Linked DNA regions of Homo sapiens: region 1 is linked to region 2. The links are contacts of gene promoters, found by promoter capture Hi-C in human tissues and cell types (Jung and others, 2019). All regions are on one chromosome and are shown on one strand. The core of a region is centred on a gene start or on the middle of the fragment in contact, and the rest is flanking DNA. Distances in the headings are between cores, read along the strand shown.

Evidence for each region. Contacts are between HindIII fragments. The study calls those that stand out against the background at their distance.
Region 1: a contact is called between a fragment that was not itself captured here and the fragment with the promoter of FAM219A in region 2, in 1 of the 25 tissues and cell types used here (adrenal gland).

The regions. Positions count from the first base shown.
Region 1 is chr9:34,188,653-34,194,076 of GRCh38, reverse strand. The region is part of intron 1 of UBAP1 (ubiquitin associated protein 1); the gene reads right to left. It also overlaps the pseudogene RPL35AP2. Among named protein-coding and RNA genes, the nearest start is that of UBAP1, 12 kb to the right of the region's middle. RefSeq lists an enhancer at 348-397. The HindIII fragment of the contact is 5,102 bases long and covers 1,404-5,424 here.
Region 2 is chr9:34,457,309-34,462,974 of GRCh38, reverse strand. FAM219A (family with sequence similarity 219 member A) reads left to right here and starts at 4,405. Exons shown (of 6, transcript NM_001184940.2): 1 at 4,405-4,771. The coding sequence starts at 4,712. DNAI1 (dynein axonemal intermediate chain 1) reads right to left here and starts at 4,170. Exons shown (of 20, transcript NM_012144.4): 1 at 3,922-4,170. The coding sequence starts at 3,969. RefSeq lists enhancers at 4,044-4,113, 4,210-4,504, 4,067-4,607 and a silencer at 4,484-4,733. The HindIII fragment of the contact is 10,660 bases long and covers 1,055-5,666 here.

The sequences.
Region 1 (5,424 bases), core at 2,705-5,204, 270 kb after region 2:
TTCATCCACTGTTCCTGGTTCATAATTCCCACAGCCCTAGTTACAGTCTTCTGATACAATATTGGGTGTGTTAGGTCTCAGGGGCAGGTCTCAGGAAACAAAACCTCTTCCTCTGCCCTACTTTCACCTGCCCCAAGAAAGGACTATAATCTTTCCCCACCTTTCTGATTGTGGGTCTTAACACCCTCCCCAGAGAGGGGACTGCCCTATACCCTGAGAGAAGGCATCCTGACATCATGAAGCTTCCACAAAAGCCCAAGAGGACTGGGTTCAGAGAACTTCTGGATAGCTGAACACCTGGAGGTTCCTGGATGGTGGTGCCCCAAGAAGGGTATAGAAGCTCCACACCTCTTCCCCCATACCTTGCTCTATGCATCCCTTCATCTATATCCTTTGTAAGATTCTTCAGAATAAACCAATAAATTTCAGTGTTTCCCTGAGTTCTGTGAGATGCTCCAGCAAATTAACCAAACCCAAAGAGGGGATCGTGGGAACACCAACATGAAGACAGTGGGTCATAAGATCCAGGGCCCCAGACATGCAACTGGTGTCCAGGGGTGTGCAGGCAGTCTTGAAGACTGAGCCCCCAACCTGAATTGGAGAACACCGAGCTGGTGTCCACTGCTTGGTGCAGAGGTGAAAAACCCCCACACTTTTGGTCACAGATGTGTTCTGTGTTGATGATTGTTGTGGTGGTGTGAGAGTAGAGGAAGAACGTGGTTTGAGAGCTTCCCCTACACAATATTTTTATTATTTTTATTTTTTTGAGACAGAGTCTCACTCTGTCACCCAGGCGGGAGCGCAGTGGCGTGATCTCAGCTCACTGCAACCTCCACCTCCTGGGTTCAAGCGATCCTCCTGCCTCAGCCCCCCTGAGTAACTGGGATTCTAGGTGCATACCACCACGCCTGGCTAATTTTTTGTATTTTTAGTAGAGAGATGGGGTTTTGCCACATTGGCCAAGCTGTTCTCAAACTCCTGACCTCAAGTGATCTGCCTGCCTCGCCTCCCAAAGTTCTGGGAATTACAGACGTGGGCCACTGCGCCTGGCCCTCCCTTACACAGTATTTTAAGAACATAAAGAATAGCAAAGATTTTAGATTGTACTTATCAGCTATAATAGCAGTATTACTATTTTAAAACCCTTTTTATATGAGTCCAATATAGAAAAATAAGTAATTATAGTTGTAAAGAACTAATATTTTTATATAAAAGAGGAAAGGCAAAATATTTAAAGTCCTATAATTCTAAAATCTAAATTATATTTCTTTGCAGGGGCTAAAAGTTAAACAAATAATAAATATCATTATGAACTTGTGATTTTAAAAAAATACATTAGCCAGGCTTGGTGGCTCATGCCTATAATCCCAGCACTTTGGGAAGCCAAGGTGGGAGGTATGCTCGAGGCCAGGAGTTTGAGACCAAACTGGGCAACATAGCAAGACCCCCATCCCTAAAGAAAATTGAAAAATAAAAAAAGAGTTCAAGGCTGAGAGAGATTGGTTTTAAAACTGGAAAGATGAACTAGAAGTGTAGATCTTTTTTTTTTTTTTTTTTTTTTGAGATGGAGTCTCATTCTATCCACCCAGGCTAGAGTGCAGTGGCGTGACCTCGGCTCACTGCAACCTCCACCTCCCGGGTTCAAGTGATTCTCCTGTCTCAGCCTCCTGAGTAGCTGGGATCACAGGCGTGCGCCACCATACCCGGCTAATTTTTGTATTTTCAGTAGAGACGGGGTTTCACCATGTTGGTCAGGCTGGTCTCACATTCCTGACCTCATGATCCACCCACCTCAGCCTCCCAAAGTGCTGGGATTACAGGCATGAGCCACCGCGCCTGGCCTGAACTTTAGATCTTTCAACTCACTGTCCACAGTTCTGCCATTACAATACAAGCTCTCATAGCAAAAGACACTATTTAAAAAGTTTATACAGGCCGGGGACCGTGGCTCATGCCTGTAATCCCAGTACTTTAGGAGGCCATGGAGGGACGATCACTTGAGGTCAGGAATTAGAGACTAACCTGGGCAACACAGCAAAACCCCATCACTAAAAAAAAAAATTTAATTAAAAAAATTTTTTTTAAATTTAAAAAATTAAAAAAAAAAATCCAAGGCTGAGAGAGGTTGGTTTTTAAACAGGAAAGCTGAACTAGGACTTTTTTTGTTCACAAATCCACTTTTACTTTTTAGTAGTTTAAATCCTTGAGGGGTACAACATCACGTGAATTCTGTGTCCAAACGGCCTCAGCAGGAAGATTCCTTTGGAATTTGGCATGTCTGTTTCCATGGGCGCAAATTATCTTTCCACAGATTACTCTGGTTTTGTTTGGTTTGCCACCAGGAGTCACTGTGTTGTTCTTTGCTTTGTATACATAAGCACAAATCTCTTGCCCAAACAGAATTCAGCTTCATCTCAGGCATAAACACCTTCGATTTAAAAACAGTTGTGTGCTCTCTTTGATTCTGGAGACCACACTTACAGCCAACAAAAAATGGCCTTGGACCACAGCCTTCCAGACATATTTGCCTTTTAGAAGTCCTATTCCCAGCAGGCCTCTAAAAGCTTCAAGATGGTGGAAAAAGTGAACTACAACTTTCGATCTTTCAACTCACTGTCCAGAGTTCTGCCATTACAATATCATCCCTCATGGCTAAAGACACTATTTTAAAGTTTACACAGGCCAGGCACAGTGGATCACACCCACAATCCTGGTGCTTTAGGAGGCCAAGGTGGGAAGACTGCTTGAGGCCAGAAGTTTCAGACCAGGGAACATAGCAAGACCCCATCTCTATAAATAAATAAATACAAACTCTCAAGCCCACACCAGAGCTACTGACTCAGAATCTACATTTTAATAATACATCCAAGTTATCCATACACACACTAAAACTTTGAGAATCACTGACCTACAACAGTGCTGTCCAGCAGAACTTTCTACACTGATGAAAATGTTTTATATCTCCACTGTCAATGTTGGAGACATATCAGACAGGACAGATACAGAATGTCTCAAATTAGAACTGCACCTAAACATAATTTCTTATACTACTAAATGAAATAAATCTCCATTACTCTAATATATATATGCTCTTCCACTAAATATAATGCCAGTAATATATCCAGAGCAGGCTGGGCACTGTGACTCACACCTGTAATTCCAACACTTTGGGAGGCCGAGGCAGGTGGATCACCTGAACTTAGGAGTTTGAGACCAGCCTGTGCAACATGATGAAACCCCATCTCTACAAAAAATACAAAAAAAAAAAAAAAAAGAGCCAGGCATGGTGGCATGAGCCTGCAGTCCCAGCTACTCGGGAGGCTGAGGTAGGAGAATCACCTGAACCCAGGAAGTCAAGGCTGCAGCAGTGAGCTGTGACTGCATCACTGCACTCCAGCCTGGGCAACAGAGCGAGACCCTGTCTCCAAAAAAAAAAAAAAAAAGAAAGAAAGAAAGGAAAAAAGATTCCCTATTAAATTACAAGAACTGCCAGGCATGGTGGCTCAAGTCTGTAATCCCAGCACTTTGGGAAGCTGAGGAAGGTGGATCCCCTGAGATCAGGAGTTCAAGACCAGCCTGGCCAACATGGTGAAACCCCATCTCCACTAAAAATAAAAAATTTAGCCAGGCATGGTGGCAAGGGCCTGTAATCCCAGCTACTCAGGAGGCTGAGGCAGGAGAATCGCTTGGACCCAGGAGGCAGAGGTTGCAGTGAGCCAAGACCACACCACTGCACTCCAGTCTGGGTGACAGAGTGGGACTCCACCCCAAAAAATAAATAAATTACAAGAACTAGCTAATATTTCTTCTTCAAGAAAACGGATAGGACACGACATAAACAATTAAAGACCTTCCGTGATTTTTGTTTAAGATTTTATTAACATTAAATTTTTTTAACTTTTAAGTTCAGGGGTACATGTGAAGGTTTGTTACATAGGTAAACTTGTGTCATGGGGGTTGTTGTACAGATTATTTCATCACCCAGGTATTAAGCCTGGTATCCATTAGTTATTTTTCCTGATCCTCTCCCTTCTATTTTTGCTAAAGTATTTTCAGAAAACAAAAGTTGTTAAGTTTGTTTCCTTTGGCTAGAATATCTCGGAAATATAATAAACCTTTGATGAAAGAATTAAATATGTCTGGCCAGGAGCAGTGGCTCACACCTGTAATCCCAGCACTTTGGGAGGCTGAGGCGGGTAGATCACCTGAGGTCAGGAGTTCAAGTCCAGCCAGACCAACACGGAGAAACACCGTCTCTACTAAAAATACAAAATTAATCGAGCATGGTGGAGCACGCCCGTAATCCCAGCTACTCGGGAGACTGAGGCAGGAGAACTGCTTGAACCCAAGAGGCAGAGGCTGCAGTAAGCCAAGATTGTACCATTGCACTCCAGCCTGGGCAACAAGAGCAAAACTCCGTCTCAAAAAATAATAATAATAATAATAATTTCCAAATTTGAAAGTTCACAAACTACCCCTAAAGTCTGCTCCAGCAGTGATTTTTAATTTGGCTGACCATTTGACCTTGAATTCCACCCATGCAGCCAGATCACTTCTCTCATGAGGTATCCTATAAGACATAATGATCGGCCGGGTGCGGTGGCTCATGCCTGTAATCCCAGCACTTTGGGAGGATGAGGCAGGTGGATCATTTGAGTTCAGGAGTTTGCGACCAGCCTAGCCAACATGGTGAAACCCCATTTCTACTAAAAATATAAAAATTAGCCAGGCATGGTGGCACGTGCCTGTAATCCCAGCTACTCGGGAGGCTGAGGTGAAAGAATCACTTGAACCCTGGAGGAGGAGGTTGCAATGAGTCAAGATCGCACCACTGCACTCCAAGCTAGGCGACACAGCAAGACTCTGTCTTTAAAAAAAAAAAAAAAAGATATAATGATCTACTAGAAGAAAGAAATGGGGAAGTTACTGCCCATATCCTTCCCCATGAAACTACTGAAGGAAATGTTAACACTCCCAAACTATAGAAAGATTTTAGGATTAGGAAGATTCCATTCTTACCAGTAAGGATGCAAACCCCACCTGGGACCAAGACCATGATGATGAGATGAAGCAAAAGACAGGCAAAGCCAGCCTAATCTTTTTTATTTTTTATTTTTTGGAGATGGAGTTTCACTCTTGTCGGCCAGGCTGGAGTGCAATGGTACGATCTCGGCTCACCGAAACCTCTGCCTCCCGGCTTCAAGCAATTCTCCTGCCTCAGCCTCCTGAGTAGCTGGGATTACAGGAATCCACCACCATGCCTGGCTAATTTTTCTATTTTTAGGAGAGACAGGGTTTCACCATGTTGGCCAGGCTGGTCTCGAACTCCTGACCTCAGGTGATCCACACGCCTCAGCCTCCCAAAGTGCTGGGATTACAGGCGTGAGCCAACGCACCCGGCCCAAGACAGACTAATCTTGAGTT
Region 2 (5,666 bases), core at 3,156-5,655:
TTACAAATTTATTTATTGCCACTTTACCTCCAACTAAAAAATAAGCTCCATGAGAGCAGGGATTTTTGTTTGTTTTGTTTCTTGCTATATCACCAATACCTAGAACAGTACCTAACACAGAGTGGGTACGATAAATAATTACTGCATGAATATTTACACATCAATATTTTTATCTCTTAGTCTCCAAAACCCATTTCTTAAGGCATGGATACTTGTGGTTCAAATTTGAATCATTCATAGCCCTACTGCCAAAGCAGATACAAACATGTACCTGGAAAACCATACTTACACAGTTACATTTCCTTGTTATAATTCCCCACAAGTCTCCCCATCCCAGCTTCACCCCTTCCCATCCTTCGAACACATTCAGATGATAATTTCCAAGAACAACTTAGGGCATTCAGAATTCATATTGAACTCATTTTCTTAGAATTTAATATATTCCAGGTATTGTGCTAGGTAGAGGGGAATCAACAATGAACAAGACAGACATGATCCTTACCATAACATAGTTTATAGTCTAGAGGGGATATCACCCTATCCTGCCTCCAGAAAGGGGACTTAATCCTTTGTAGAAGAATATGAGGGCCAAGCTTAGACCCGAAATATGAATAGGATATGAAGGAAAGATTTGGGGTAGGGTGGAGTAGACTAGTAGACACAGACAGAAAAGATTTCAAAAGCTTAGAGGAGATAAACAGTGTGAATATCACTTTCCAGGAAGTGAGGGCAGTTCAGTTTGCTGGGATTGTGGAATTTTCATAGAGAAATGGTGAGGTTTGAAGTAGGATGGGTAGCAAAGGCAAGACCATGCAGGGTGGCAAAGGCCATACCAAGCAAATTGGACTTTTGGGACTTTATCCTGAAAGCAACAAGGAACCATTAAAAGGCGACTAGTGGAGTGATATGAACAAATGGAATTTAAACTCCTCTCTATCCTCTAACAAACCCAACCCTGATCTTCCCTCACCCCTGGCAACCCAGTCCTACCTACCTCCTCCCTGAAGCCTTTCTGCTGCTCTAACCTGCAGGCTTCTCTCCCCTTCATCCCCAGGGATCCCATCCTCCTTTATCTTTTTCTGCCTGTGTTCTGTCTCCCCCATTGAACTGAATTCCCAGAGGACAGGGACAACTTCTCAAACATCTCTAGGACATCCCACACCTGATTAGCACTGACTCAAATTGGTCTTCACTGAGGCAAGAAAATGGTAAATACAACCTAGCACAACCTAACCTTTTCTCACACCCCACACGCCAATATTTACTCTGAACTAAAACAACCCTTCCCTCCATGGGGCAGTGCTGATGTGTACGGGGCCAGTTGACCCAGTTTTTTCTGCTTTCTGTCTGCTGTCACCTCTCCCTGCTCTCAGTGTAACTAGTCTCTAATGTCTCCCTAATGGGCTAGAGAAACCCATCCCCAAGCTTGTTCAAACTGCAAGTTGCTAGAAAAGACAAATTGAATCTGTAATGACAGAAAGCAGATCTGTGGTTACCTAGGCAGGCCAGGGGTGGGGCATAGGAGGTGGGATGAGGCACAGGGAACTTCTTGGGATAGAGAAAGTATCCTATATCTTGAGTGTGGTAGTGGTTTATACGTGTGTAAATTTGTTAAAATTTGTCAACACGTACAACTAAAATGGTACATTCTATTATATGTAAACCAAACCTCAATAATGTTTATTTTAAAAGCAAACTGCTGGGGCACGGGGGCTCACCCCTGTAATCCCAGCACTTTGGGAGGCCTAGGCCTGTGGATCACCTGAGGTCAGGAGTCCGAGACCAGCCTGACCAATATGGTGAAACCCCGTCTCTACTAAAAATACAAAAATTGGCTGGGTGCGGTGGCCCACACCTGTAATCCCAGCACTTTGGGAGGCCGAGGCGGGCAGATCACGAGGTCAGGAGATCCAAGACCATCGTGGCTAACACAGTGAAACCCTGTCTCTACCAAAAATACAAAAAAATTAGCTGGGCGTGGTGGCAGGCGCCTATAGTCCCAGCTCCTTGGGAGGCTGAGGCAGGAGAATGACGTGAACCCAGGAGGCGGAGCTTGCAGTGAGCCAAGATCACACCACTGCACTCCAGCCTGGGCGACAGAGCAAGACTCCGTCTCAAAAATAAAATAAAATAAAATAATAAAAAAAAATTAGCCAGGCATGGTGGTGCATGCCTGTAATCCCAGCTACTTGGGAGGCTGAGGCAGGTCCCTTGAATCGGGGAGGTGGAGGTTGCAGTGAACCTAGATTGCGCCACTGCACTCCACCCTGGGTGACAAGAGTGAAACTCCGTCTCAAAAATAAAAAATACAAAAATAAAAAATAAATAAAAGCAAACTGCCTGTAAATATAGGGTCAGGAGGCTCAAACACAGTACATGAACTTCAACGTAAAGCCCAACCCCAACATAAAATTAGGGCATGTTCATATGGGACTAGCAGCTTCCCCAAGGCTGCAGAGACCTAAGAAAGTCAGGTCCATCTGCTACAGAAGCCCAGGTAAAAGAGGCAGAGGAGCAAAGGCTAACATGGAGGTGGCCAGACCAAAATATGCAAAGTCATAAGTAGCATGGAGATTGGCTCTCTAAACCTCAATGTACCTAGACTTGAGTGGGGTAAATCTGGAATAAATATATAGAAGTCCTGCTTTCCAGAGCTAGAAACTACACATTAGCCTGAGTGGTAATTCATAAAGGGTTTGGAAAAAGTTCCTGAAGGACTGAGTTGCTTCACCACAGAAGACTCCTTGGGAAACTGGGACTGCCTTGCCTTCCGTGGTGATGCTGAGGAAGAAAGCAGAACTCTGTGCTCAGTGGGTTAAGTGGGGGATGACTCGGGTTTCCTGTGAGAAGGGATGACATCTGTCCAGGTGGTAATAAGAGCATAATGTTCACATAGCTGAATGAATCATAGGAGTGGACCAGGGGCTCGCAGGGAAGAGAGAGATATGAGGCTCTAGAAATAGTTGGGGCAGAGTGTTTGGGTTGTGCACTGTGGGGGTGAGGACAGGGATGAGAAAAGGGCCTCTCTCCTCTTCCTCTTTGCCTGCCCTTTCTCTCCTCATAAATCTCCCAGCACAGAAAATAAAATCACACTCCTGCACATAGCCTGTCCTGTATTCTGTTTAGTTCTCTTGCACACCCTCTGTGGGCTCCCAAACAGCAAGAGCTGTGTTCCCACCTAGCCTGGAGCTAGGCACACAGCAAAGGGTTGGATAAAGAATGCCTTTGAGGCTGGGCGCCGTGGCTCACGCCTGTAATCCCAGCACTTCGGAAGGTCAAGGTAGGAGGATCGCTTGAGCTCAGGAGTTAGAGACGGGCCTGGGCAACATGGGGAAACCCCGTCTCTACCAAAAACACAAAATTTAGCCGGGCGTGGTGGCCTATGCCTTTGGTTCCAGCTATTCGTCAGGCTGAAGTGGGAGAATCGCTTGCACCCAGGAGGCAGAGGTTACAGAGAGCTGAGATGGCGCCACTGCATTCTAGCCTGGGCTACAGGGCGAGCCTCTGTCTCAAAAAAAAAAAAAGAAAGAAAGAAAGAAAAAGAAAAAGAAAAATTCCTTTGGGACAAGAATGTGAGAACAAGGAGGAAGGGACTCGTGGGAATGGGGATGGGGAAGTTAAGGAGAATAGACTGGTCAGAATGAGTCCATGGGGTAAAGTGAAGTGAAGAGATGGGAATGGTGGATAAAAGGAGAGAGGTAAGAAACGGTGGATTGGGGTAGTATGGGAGAGGAGGCCGGGATTAGTGGGAAAGAGTAGGACAGAGTCAGAGGTCAGTGGGAGCACTTACCAGAGGTCACGGGGGTGAGAAGGCTGGGGTCAACAGAGAAAAGATCAAGGATCAGTAGGAGAGGTATGATTAGTGGTCACTGGCGACGACGAAGGTCAGAGGTCATCAGAAGGAAGGTGTGCGTACGTTACCTGCTTATGAGGCTGTTTATGGGGAGCCTTCGCAGAAGCAGGAATCATCTCAACCCCTGGAGAGCCTACAAAACGCTCCCTCGTCTGAAGACAAAAAGTTTGTCCGTCTCCTTGACCACACACAAGAAATCTGGACTCTCTTCCACTTCAGTTACCAGTCGCAACGGTTCTTTAGGGACAGCCGTCGTTGTGGGTCCCCGTGCCCTTGCAGGATAGAATCCAACTCCCTGACGCGGTTACCCAGCAACCGACCAGCAGCCAAGGCGCAGGCGCTTCGGCGCGCCCAGCCGGCCCGGAAAGGAGGCGGGGTTGGGCGCGCGGCGAGCGAGTCTCCACTAAGCCCCGCCCCCTCAGGAATCACAGCTGGGCGGCCGCGCGCATTCGGAACTCCCGCATGTGGGTGGGGCTGGGGTCCCCAGGCACCGCCTCCTCATGAATAATGCAAGATCCGGGCGGTGTCCCGGACCCGGAAGTGGAGTTGCCGAGTCACCGCAGTGGCTGAGCTGCTGACAGGAGGCGGCAGCGGAGTAGGAGGCGAGGCAAGACCTGCGGCTCGGCCCGGCCACAGCCGCGGTAGTGCTAGGCAAGCCCACGGAGTCACGCCGGCCTCAGCCAGTCTGCGAACCTCTCGCCCCCGCCCACCCCTGCATCCGCCCGGCCCCTGCCCGCCCGAGTGGTCCGGGGAGGCCTAGTCTGCACCACCCGCCGGGCTCCTGGGGCCGCCGCCCCGCGCGGTCCTGTCGGCGTCCGCGGCCGCGCCCGGCCCCTGGCCCGCTCGCCCGCCGGCACCATGATGGAGGAGATCGACCGGTTCCAGGTGCCCACCGCGCACTCGGAGATGCAGCCGCTGGTGAGGGGGCGGGCGGCGGGCAGGCCAAGGCCGGAGGGGGCGTCGCTTGAGGGGGAGGGAGGGAATCAGGCCGGGGGGATCGTGCGGAGGGGCGCCATCGGATGGGGCAAAGAGATCCCTGAAAACGTATTGCCGGGGGACGGGGACTTGCAGGACAAGAAAACCGTGGGAGAATATGCTGGATGAGAGCAAAGGGACCTGTAAGGGCGGAGGGCACCGTCGGTGGAAGCAGGGCACCGTCGGATGGAACGGAGGGGGCACAAAGGTGCACACCGCTAGTGGAGGCCCATAGCAGGGACTGGCGAGGGAACTGCCATGGGGCACCGCCGGCGGCAGGCCCAGGGGTCTGGGATGGGAGGTGGGGAGGCGTTTAGTCCTAGAGGCCTGTGATGCTTAGGGCGGGGGAGCCGTCAGGCTAAGAGAGATTGGGAATCAGCTTTTAGAAGAGGAGGGGCTTGCCCGCCTGTCCGCTGGATATACGGACAGGAACGCTGGGCCGGGGCGAGGGACCCAGTGGGGGAAGGTGGTTGGTGCAGAACCTGGGAATTCCGTTCTCCGGTGGGGAGCGCAGGCAGACCAGGCTGGGGGCATCTAAACCGGGAAGGAGAGTGCGCGGCGACCAGATGGGGAATCGGGGTGCAGATGAGAGTGCTCGGGAACCGACGGGAGAGGAAGTGGGGTCGCGCTGGAGCTGCCTGTGCGCACTGGTTGGGAAGAGCCCCCATCATCTTAGGCCTACGTGCCTGAAGTCCTTGCTGGGCGCGGATCCTGCCGCCTGTCCGCGGTCCCGGAGTCAGGGAGGAATGATGTCATCGCTGCTGGCGCGGAGGGAATGGAAGGGGGAGGGCAACTCGGGTGCACCGAGGCTAGGCCTAAGGGAGACCATGCTTGCTGG